3 separate regions of the Homo sapiens genome follow, and all the other regions are linked to region 1. The links are contacts of gene promoters, found by promoter capture Hi-C in human tissues and cell types (Jung and others, 2019). All regions are on one chromosome and are shown on one strand. The core of a region is centred on a gene start or on the middle of the fragment in contact, and the rest is flanking DNA. Distances in the headings are between cores, read along the strand shown. Region 1 holds the start of SLC39A12 (solute carrier family 39 member 12). Region 2 overlaps SLC39A12 (solute carrier family 39 member 12). Region 3 overlaps SLC39A12 (solute carrier family 39 member 12).

The links. The method cuts DNA at HindIII sites, captures the fragments that hold promoters and counts their contacts. A contact is called where the count stands out against the background at its distance.
Region 2: a contact is called between a fragment that was not itself captured here and the fragment with the promoter of SLC39A12 in region 1, in 2 of the 25 tissues and cell types used here (H1 embryonic stem cells and small bowel).
Region 3: a fragment that was not itself captured here is called in contact with the fragment with the promoter of SLC39A12 in region 1 in 2 of the 25 tissues and cell types used here (dorsolateral prefrontal cortex and neural progenitor cells).

The regions. Positions count from the first base shown.
Region 1 is chr10:17,950,662-17,953,170 of GRCh38, forward strand. SLC39A12 (solute carrier family 39 member 12) reads left to right here and starts at 1,257. Exons shown (of 13, transcript NM_001145195.2): 1 at 1,257-1,364. The HindIII fragment of the contact is 7,346 bases long and covers 1-2,509 here.
Region 2 is chr10:18,007,055-18,009,563 of GRCh38, forward strand. The region is part of intron 12 of SLC39A12 (solute carrier family 39 member 12); the gene reads left to right. SLC39A12-AS1 (SLC39A12 antisense RNA 1) reads right to left here. Exons shown (of 5, transcript NR_038419.1): 3 at 1,496-1,629. Among named protein-coding and RNA genes, the nearest start is that of SLC39A12-AS1, 2.3 kb to the right of the region's middle. The HindIII fragment of the contact is 5,062 bases long and covers 1-2,509 here.
Region 3 is chr10:17,986,078-17,988,586 of GRCh38, forward strand. SLC39A12 (solute carrier family 39 member 12) reads left to right here. Exons shown (of 13, transcript NM_001145195.2): 7 at 1,402-1,574. Among named protein-coding and RNA genes, the nearest start is that of SLC39A12-AS1, 23 kb to the right of the region's middle. The HindIII fragment of the contact is 4,658 bases long and covers 1-2,509 here.

The sequences.
Region 1 (2,509 bases), core at 7-2,506:
AGACAGAAAAGTTCTCCAAGTCCCCACCATCCCAGAAGCCCAGCTGGCTTCACCTCTCACTGGCACTAGCCACGGGACTTTGTGGCACCTATCCGGAGCACCTAGCCCGGGCACTCCAGCAGCCTAGAGGGAGCTCGTCCCAGACAATCAAGAGCAAAAGACGGGAAGCAAGAAAGAGATGGAGACCCGCCATCGTGGCCAACGTTCTGGTCCACGCACGGGATTCAGCCTCTGATCAAGCCCCAGTTCCCGCCCACGCCTCTCCCTCCACACCTCCCGGCAAGCAGAGGGAGCCGGCTCCGGCCTCGGCCAGCCCCAGAGAGGGTCCCCCACAGCGCAGCGGCGGGCTGAAGGGCTCCTTGAAGACGGAGAGAGCTGAAGCTGAGGCTGAGGAGGCGCCAAGAGCGAGCCAGGGCTGCTAGCAAGTTGTCATCTCTCATTACTAGCATTCTCTCAGGAATATCCTACCGCAGGGTTCCCGTGTTTCATATACAATTAGTGATGAGGCTAATCATCCTGATCTCAAATTTCCTCTACCTGCCCACCAGCTGACTTAAACCCCTATACTGTGGGCATGCATTCTGCCCACTCTGAAATCTTAGGATTTAACTTCTCTTGCTTCCTAGAAAATGAACCACTTTGTTCCTTTAGTCATTTATTCACTAATAATTTGTTGAGAGGTTTTGTTTTGAGGAGCATGAAGGATCTGATGTAAGAACTACCACCGGTGCTGGTGATCACAATATATGCAGCTGATTAAAGTTCCTCATTTATGCTACCTACATCCCTGGTAAGAATTTCATTCCTTCAACCAATACTTTTCATTTGAAAGCATCTCATTACGAAAGACTTCAATCTTTTAGGCTTCTGCATCTTGCAAAACAAATATGGTTCCAAAGAGCCTATCTTTTCAACAAATCTTTGGTTTGAGCCTGGATGAAACAGTTATTACAGAATCAACTGGAGAGGAAAAAATCTTCATCTAACACTGAAGTCTTTCTATTCTGCGAGGTGAAATCCTTTGACCTAGATTCTGTCCCTTGAAAGGCAAGTGACAGTAGGTGAGCCTAAGAAAATTGGTTAATTCTTGATCTAAAAAGTTAAATTCATGAACCACACTGATTTGATTACCTTGAAAATCTACCAGACAGAAAGTTCTCCCTTTTATCCACCTTCATTGTTACCTTCAGAGCAGCTCTCTCCATAGCAACTGAAAACTTTTCTGGGCTGAAATAATCCTCTCTAGCTCCCAGTGCACAGTCAAAGAATTTTAAAAACAGGGAACTTTGTAACTGTGAAATACTCTCCAGGATTTAAAAGGCTGTGGAGCTCCAGATAAAGAATCGTTTATCTTTCTTCTGAAGGTAAGCACTGGGGTTAGAAATGCTTGCATCATCCTCTGTCACTTTTAAATTGCTAACATAACAACCTTAAAGTGTTGTTGTTGTTTTTAACTCATAAAAGTAATCCCAGTACCTTTGTTACTAGCCCACAGTCATTTACCAGCTCATCTCTGGGCCAGGATCGGACATGAGATGCTGTTAACATTTTACATGCCTTAAGCCATCAACAGAAAGATAATTTTTTTTTCCAGGAAGTTGATTGGCTCTAAAGTCATCCCCCACTCCTTTAGTCACCACTGAGTGAGTGTGTGTGTGTGTGTGTGTCATGTTCTTGAGGTCTCGAAATTCTGTTTTTCTAAGATGCTTCCTGCTCTAGAATCTTGATTCTTAGTAAACTAAAAAAAAGACCTGTGTTTTCTGAACATTACTATTTTCTTCTAGTGCTTTTCCTTGTCTAAAACTCTTTTTTTTTCTTTTTTCTTTTTTCTTTTTTTTTTTTTTGAGATGGAGTCTTGTTCTGTCGCCCAGGCTGGAGTGCAGTGGCACGATCTTGGCTCACTGCAACCCCCGCCTCCCGGGTTCAAGCAATTCTTCTGCCTCAGCCTCCCATGTAACTGGGACTACAGGCACGTGCCACCATACCTGGCTAATTTTTGTATTTTCAGTAGAGACGGGGGTGTCACCATATTGGCCAGGCTGGTCTCAAACTCCTGACCTCGTGATCTGCCTGCTTCAGCCTCCCAAAGTGCTGGGATTACTGGTGTGAGCTACCGCGCCTGGCCTAAAACTTTTAAACTCAACATGATGTTGGTCATTTAGTAGAATTTATTTTCTCTTTTTCATGAGGACCATGAATCACTTGGAGTTCTTTATAATGGGATAAACATAAGGTGTTTCCCAACCTGGGTCCTATAACTTGTACCACCTGTTGGTAAATGGAGAAACTTACGTGACGCTATGTTTAGTTTAGGGAGAGAGAATCTAGCAAGCTTTTTGGCTGCTGTGCAGTTTGAAAGTCTACAGCCATGGTGCTTTCCTGCCATTTGGGGTTAGAAATTACCTACAGACCCCCGCTGTGTAGAAACAGCTTGTCATTGCAAATCAGCTTAGCCACCCAATTAATGAATCCTTTCAAACATGTTGCAGGCACAATAATTGAAGGCTTT
Region 2 (2,509 bases), core at 7-2,506, 56 kb after region 1:
TCCCTTCGTGGTGGTAGCCAGCCAAAATACCACAAAGACTTCATAGAAAACAATAAGTGGAAGAAGCTCCAAACCCTGCTGGCCCTGAGGCCATAGTTGATATTCTTCATCTCTGCTCTCCAGCATCCAATCCTGATCCTCCTTAGCTCCAGGCAGCACTTGGGTTGATCTACATCAACCCAACCCTGGGAGGGGCAACTTAGGTCTTCAATGAAGGATCTGAATGTTCACTGCTTTGTCCTTGTTAGGCTGTGTATCCTCTAGTTGCCTGGTGACCATTGTTACCAGGCATCAAGAAGCACCAAGAGATGCTCCAAGAAATCTGAATTTGTAGCTGTGTTCCTTCTCTCCTCACCATGCAGCAGCACCCCTAACTCCTCATGGTAACTGTTATAGGAAAGGAGTCCTAATCCAGACCCCAAGAGAGGGTTCTTGGATCTTGTGCAAGAAAGAATTCAGAGAGAGTCCACAGTGCAAAGAAAAAACAAGTTTATTAAGAAAGTAAAAGGATAAAAGAATGGCTACTCCATAGACAGAGCAACCCCATTGCTGCTGGTTGCCCATTTTCATGGTTATTTCTTCATGATATGCTAAACAAGGGTTGGATTATTCATTCCCCCCCCTTTTTAGACCATATGGGGTAATGTCCTGACATTGCCCTGGCATTTGTAAGTTGTCATGGCACTGGTGGGAGTGTAGCAGTGAGGATGACCAGAGGTCACTCTCATTGCCGTTTTGGTTTTGGTGAGACTTTGCTGGTTTCCTTACTGCAAACTGTTTTGTCAGCAAGGTCTTTATGACCTGTATCTTTTGCTGACCTCCTCTCTCTTCCTGTGATGTAGAATGCCTTAACTGTCTGGGAATGCAGCCCAGTAGGCCTCAGCCTCATTTTACCCAGCTCCTATTCAAGATGGATTACTCTTGTTCACATGCCTCTGACATAATCACTAACAATTACTCTTACCATTATAGTAACTTTCTTCACTGTTGGTTGATCCACTAATATAGGGAGCCCCAAATGAGCAAGTGGTAGTGATAGTTTCAAGTTGACTGGAAACTTTATTGCAGGAGTTCTCAACCCCTGGTCCTGTTAGGAACGAGGCCGCACAGTAGGAGGTGAGCGGCAGGTGAGCAAGCGAAGCTTCATCTGTACTTACAGCCGCTCTGCATTGCTCACCTGAGCTCCGCCTCCTGTCAGATCAGCGGGGGCATTAGGTTCTCACAGGAGCGTGAACCTTATTGTGAACTGCGCATGTGAGGGATCTAGGTTGCACACTCCTTATGAGAATCTAATGCCTGATGATTGGTCACTATCTCCCATCACCTCCAGATGGGGCCGACTAGTTGCAGGAAAACAAGCTTAGGGCCCCCCACTGATTCAATATTATGGTGAGTTGCATAATTATTTCACTATATATTACAATGTAATAATAATAGAAATAAAGTACACAACCAATGTAATGTGCTTGAATCATCCTGAAACTATCACCCTCACCTCCAACCGTCGGTCCACGGAAAAATTGTCTTCCATGAAACCAGTCCCTGGTGCCAAAAAGGTTGTGGACCACTACTTTCTTGTATTCCCTGGTGCATTCTCCCCAGGAACAGGGATCTGTGGTCTGACAGTACCTAAGTTTACAGGAACAGGGAGCATAAATACACCAAGTGAAAAAACTAGCAATACCTATCTATCAATTGCTTTATAATTTGGTACTGTTTCTCTCCTAATCGCCATTATTTCCTTCCTTCTTACTTTGCATTTAATTTTCTCTTTACTTTCTTGCAGCTGTGTAAGAGCATCTCATTTTGTCTGAGAGCTGAATGTTCCGCCTAAGAAAATTCTCAGAATTGGAAATCTAGAGGATTTCTTAAATCCAGCTTCTCTAAAGTTTATAAAAATTGCTCAAATAGAAAAAAAAGCCCTCAAAGTATTGTCTTTTTCCAGCGTTTGGATAAGAGAGACTTTATTTTTAACTAATATAATTTGTTATTTAAAGCATAAATTAATTAATTAAAAAAATGTAAATGGGTTATGCCAAGGGAGGGTTTATTTTGGATCTGAAGCAATGTTTCAAACCTTTAGGCATTTTTCCTAGGGTTTTTAGATCCTGCCAAAATGGTGTTTCCATAGCAACAGGACTATAGAAACCTCAAGGGGCTATCACTGTAGATGTAACTAGAGATGTCCCTACAATGGGGGGAACTGGACAACTGCCCAGGAATTTAGTACATTAATAGAACCCAAGCTGATGGAGGAGCTGTAACTTAGGGAGGGAGCTAATGGAGAAGGAAGTACCTGTCCAATTCATGCCAAAACAAAATAAAACATAGCCCAGGTGCCCCCTCCAGGTGTATCCAAGGCAAATGAATTGGAATAGGGGAAATATCCAATTTCAAACCCTCTTCCCCCATCAACCTCCCTCACCATATAGGGTTCTAGATCTCTTCCCCCACCCTCACGTTTTTTGGATGCTCTTTAAAAACTTCATTTCCTCTCCAAGACTATCCC
Region 3 (2,509 bases), core at 6-2,505, 35 kb after region 1:
AACATAGGTCTACAATACTGCCAAACCTTATGCTTCCTATGTAACAGCTAGTCTTTTCGCCTTTGAGAAGCTTAAGATATGATTAAAGGGAAATTATTGCTAGTGTCTGTCTGTGGATGTTGTAGTTTCAAGTGAGAGAAATTTATTTCTTTGAGGGTTGGAGGTGAGCTCAGTCCTTGCTTGCTGCAATAATTTTTAGTAAGGGGTAGTCAGAGTAACTTCAAAACAACACGGTTATTTGAAGAAAGTCTTGTCTTAGTCCTTGCTGTAACAAAATACCACAAACGGATGGCTTATGTAAACAACAGACATCTATTTCTCACAGTTCTGGAGGTTGGGAAGTCCAAGATCAAGGCATCAGCAGATTCGGCATCTGGTGAGGGTCTCGTTCCTGGTTCATGGACTGGTGAAGGGAAGAACTCCAGTCCCTTTAGCCCCTGTAAAGACCCTAATCCCATTCAACAGGGGTGAAGAGTATATGTTCTAATCACCTCCCAAAGGCCTCACTTCCTAATACCACCCACCACCTTGGTGGTTAGGTTTCAACATGTGAATTTTGCGGAGACACAAACATTTAGACCATAGCAAATCTGTTCATTCTTTTTGTTAAAAATTTAAAAACTTTTTGCCGCATATAACACTTATAAGACTGGGTGCTGTGGCTTATGCCTGTAATCCCATCACTTTGGGAGGTGAAGCAGGAGGATTGCTTGAGCCCAGGAGCTTGAGACTAGCCCAGGTAATACAGTGAGACCCTATCTCTACTAAAAATAAAAGCTTAGCCAGGCCTGATGGCACCTGCCCGTAGTCCCAGCTGCTCGAGGGTCTGATGTGGGAAGATCACTTGAGCCTGGGAGTTCAGGATTATAGTGAGCTATAATCACACCACTCCACCCCAGCTTGAGCAGCAGAGTGAGAACCTGTCTCAAAAACAACAAAAACAACAAAACGCTTATTTAAAAATTCCAAGTTGGGGGCAGTGGGCTTACAACTGTAATCCCAGCCATTTGGGAGGCTGAGACGAGTGGATTGCTTGAGTCCAGGAGTTCGAGACCAGCCTGGGGAACATGACGAAACCCCATCTCTACAAACAAAAAATACCAGAAAATGAGTCAGGCATGATGGTGTGCACCTGTTGTCCCAGGTACTTGGGAGGCTGAGGTGGGAGGATCACTTGAGCCTAGGAGGTGGAGGCTACAGAGAGCTATGATAGTGCCACTACATTCCAGGCTGGGTGACAGACAGAGAGCCTGTCTCAAAATAAAAACAAAACACTTATTTAAAAAATCCATATCCCTACTGGCTGTTACTGTAAGACCAATTCTTCTGGCATTTTCGCCAGCTGAGGCCGGAATGGAGGGCACTGGGCACTGACTGTGTTTACGATCTCCTTTGACTTAGAATACGGCTACAGCACGGTGGCTGTCACCCTTCTCACACTGGGCTCCATGCTGGGGACAGCGCTGGTCCTTTTCCATAGCTGTGAGGAGAACTACAGGCTTATCTTACAGCTGTTTGTGGGCTTGGCCGTCGGGACACTGTCTGGGGACGCTCTGCTCCACCTTATCCCTCAGGTAATCTGGTCTTTTCCATTTCAGATAAAGTTCACTTCATTGCTCTTCACTTTTAACCACTGGAGGTATTTATGCAAAATTTTACTGAGACTTCAAAGAGAGAGTATCGTGGCTGGTGTTTTCCTTAAAAAGAAATATTATTTCCCCAAGGCCTCTCTGCACTTGTAGAAGAGAAGAGATGCCCCAACATTAGGCTCGCCACATAGTAGTAGTATTTTTGAAATAAAACAAAGGAAAGGTGGCAGGGCACGGTGGCTCACACCTGTAATCCCAGTACCATGGAAGGCTGAGGCGGGAAGATCGCTGGAGCCCAGGAGCTCAAGAACAGCCTGGCCGATGTGGTGGAACCCCATCTCTACTAAAAATACAAAAATTAGCTGCACATGTTACATGCACCGGTAGTCCCAGCACTTTGGGAGGCCAAGGCAGGTGGATTACTTGAGATCAGGAGTTCGAGACCAGCCTGGACAGCATGGTGAAACCCCATCTCTACTAAAAATATAAAAATTAGCTGGGCATAGTGCCATGCGTCTGTAATCCTAGCTACTCGGGAGGCTGAGACAGGAGAATCGCTTGAACTCGAGAGGCGAAGGTTGCAGTGAGCAAAGATCGTACCACTGCACTCCAGCATGGGTGACAGAGCGAGACTCTGTCTCAGAAAAAGTTGTCATTCAGTTAGTTCACCCAAGACCTGGTTGTTTAAAAGTCCAGAACCTCCCCGTCTCCCTCTCTCTTGCTTTCTCTCTCTCATTATGTGATGTGCCTGCTTCCCCTTCACTGTCTACTGTGATTGGAAGCTTCCTGAGGCCCATATCAGAAGCAAATGCTGACACCATGCTTCCTGTACACCCTGCAGAACCAGGAGCCCATTAAACCTCTTTTCTTTATAGGTTATCCAGCCTCAGATATTTCTTTATAGCAACACAAAAATGGCC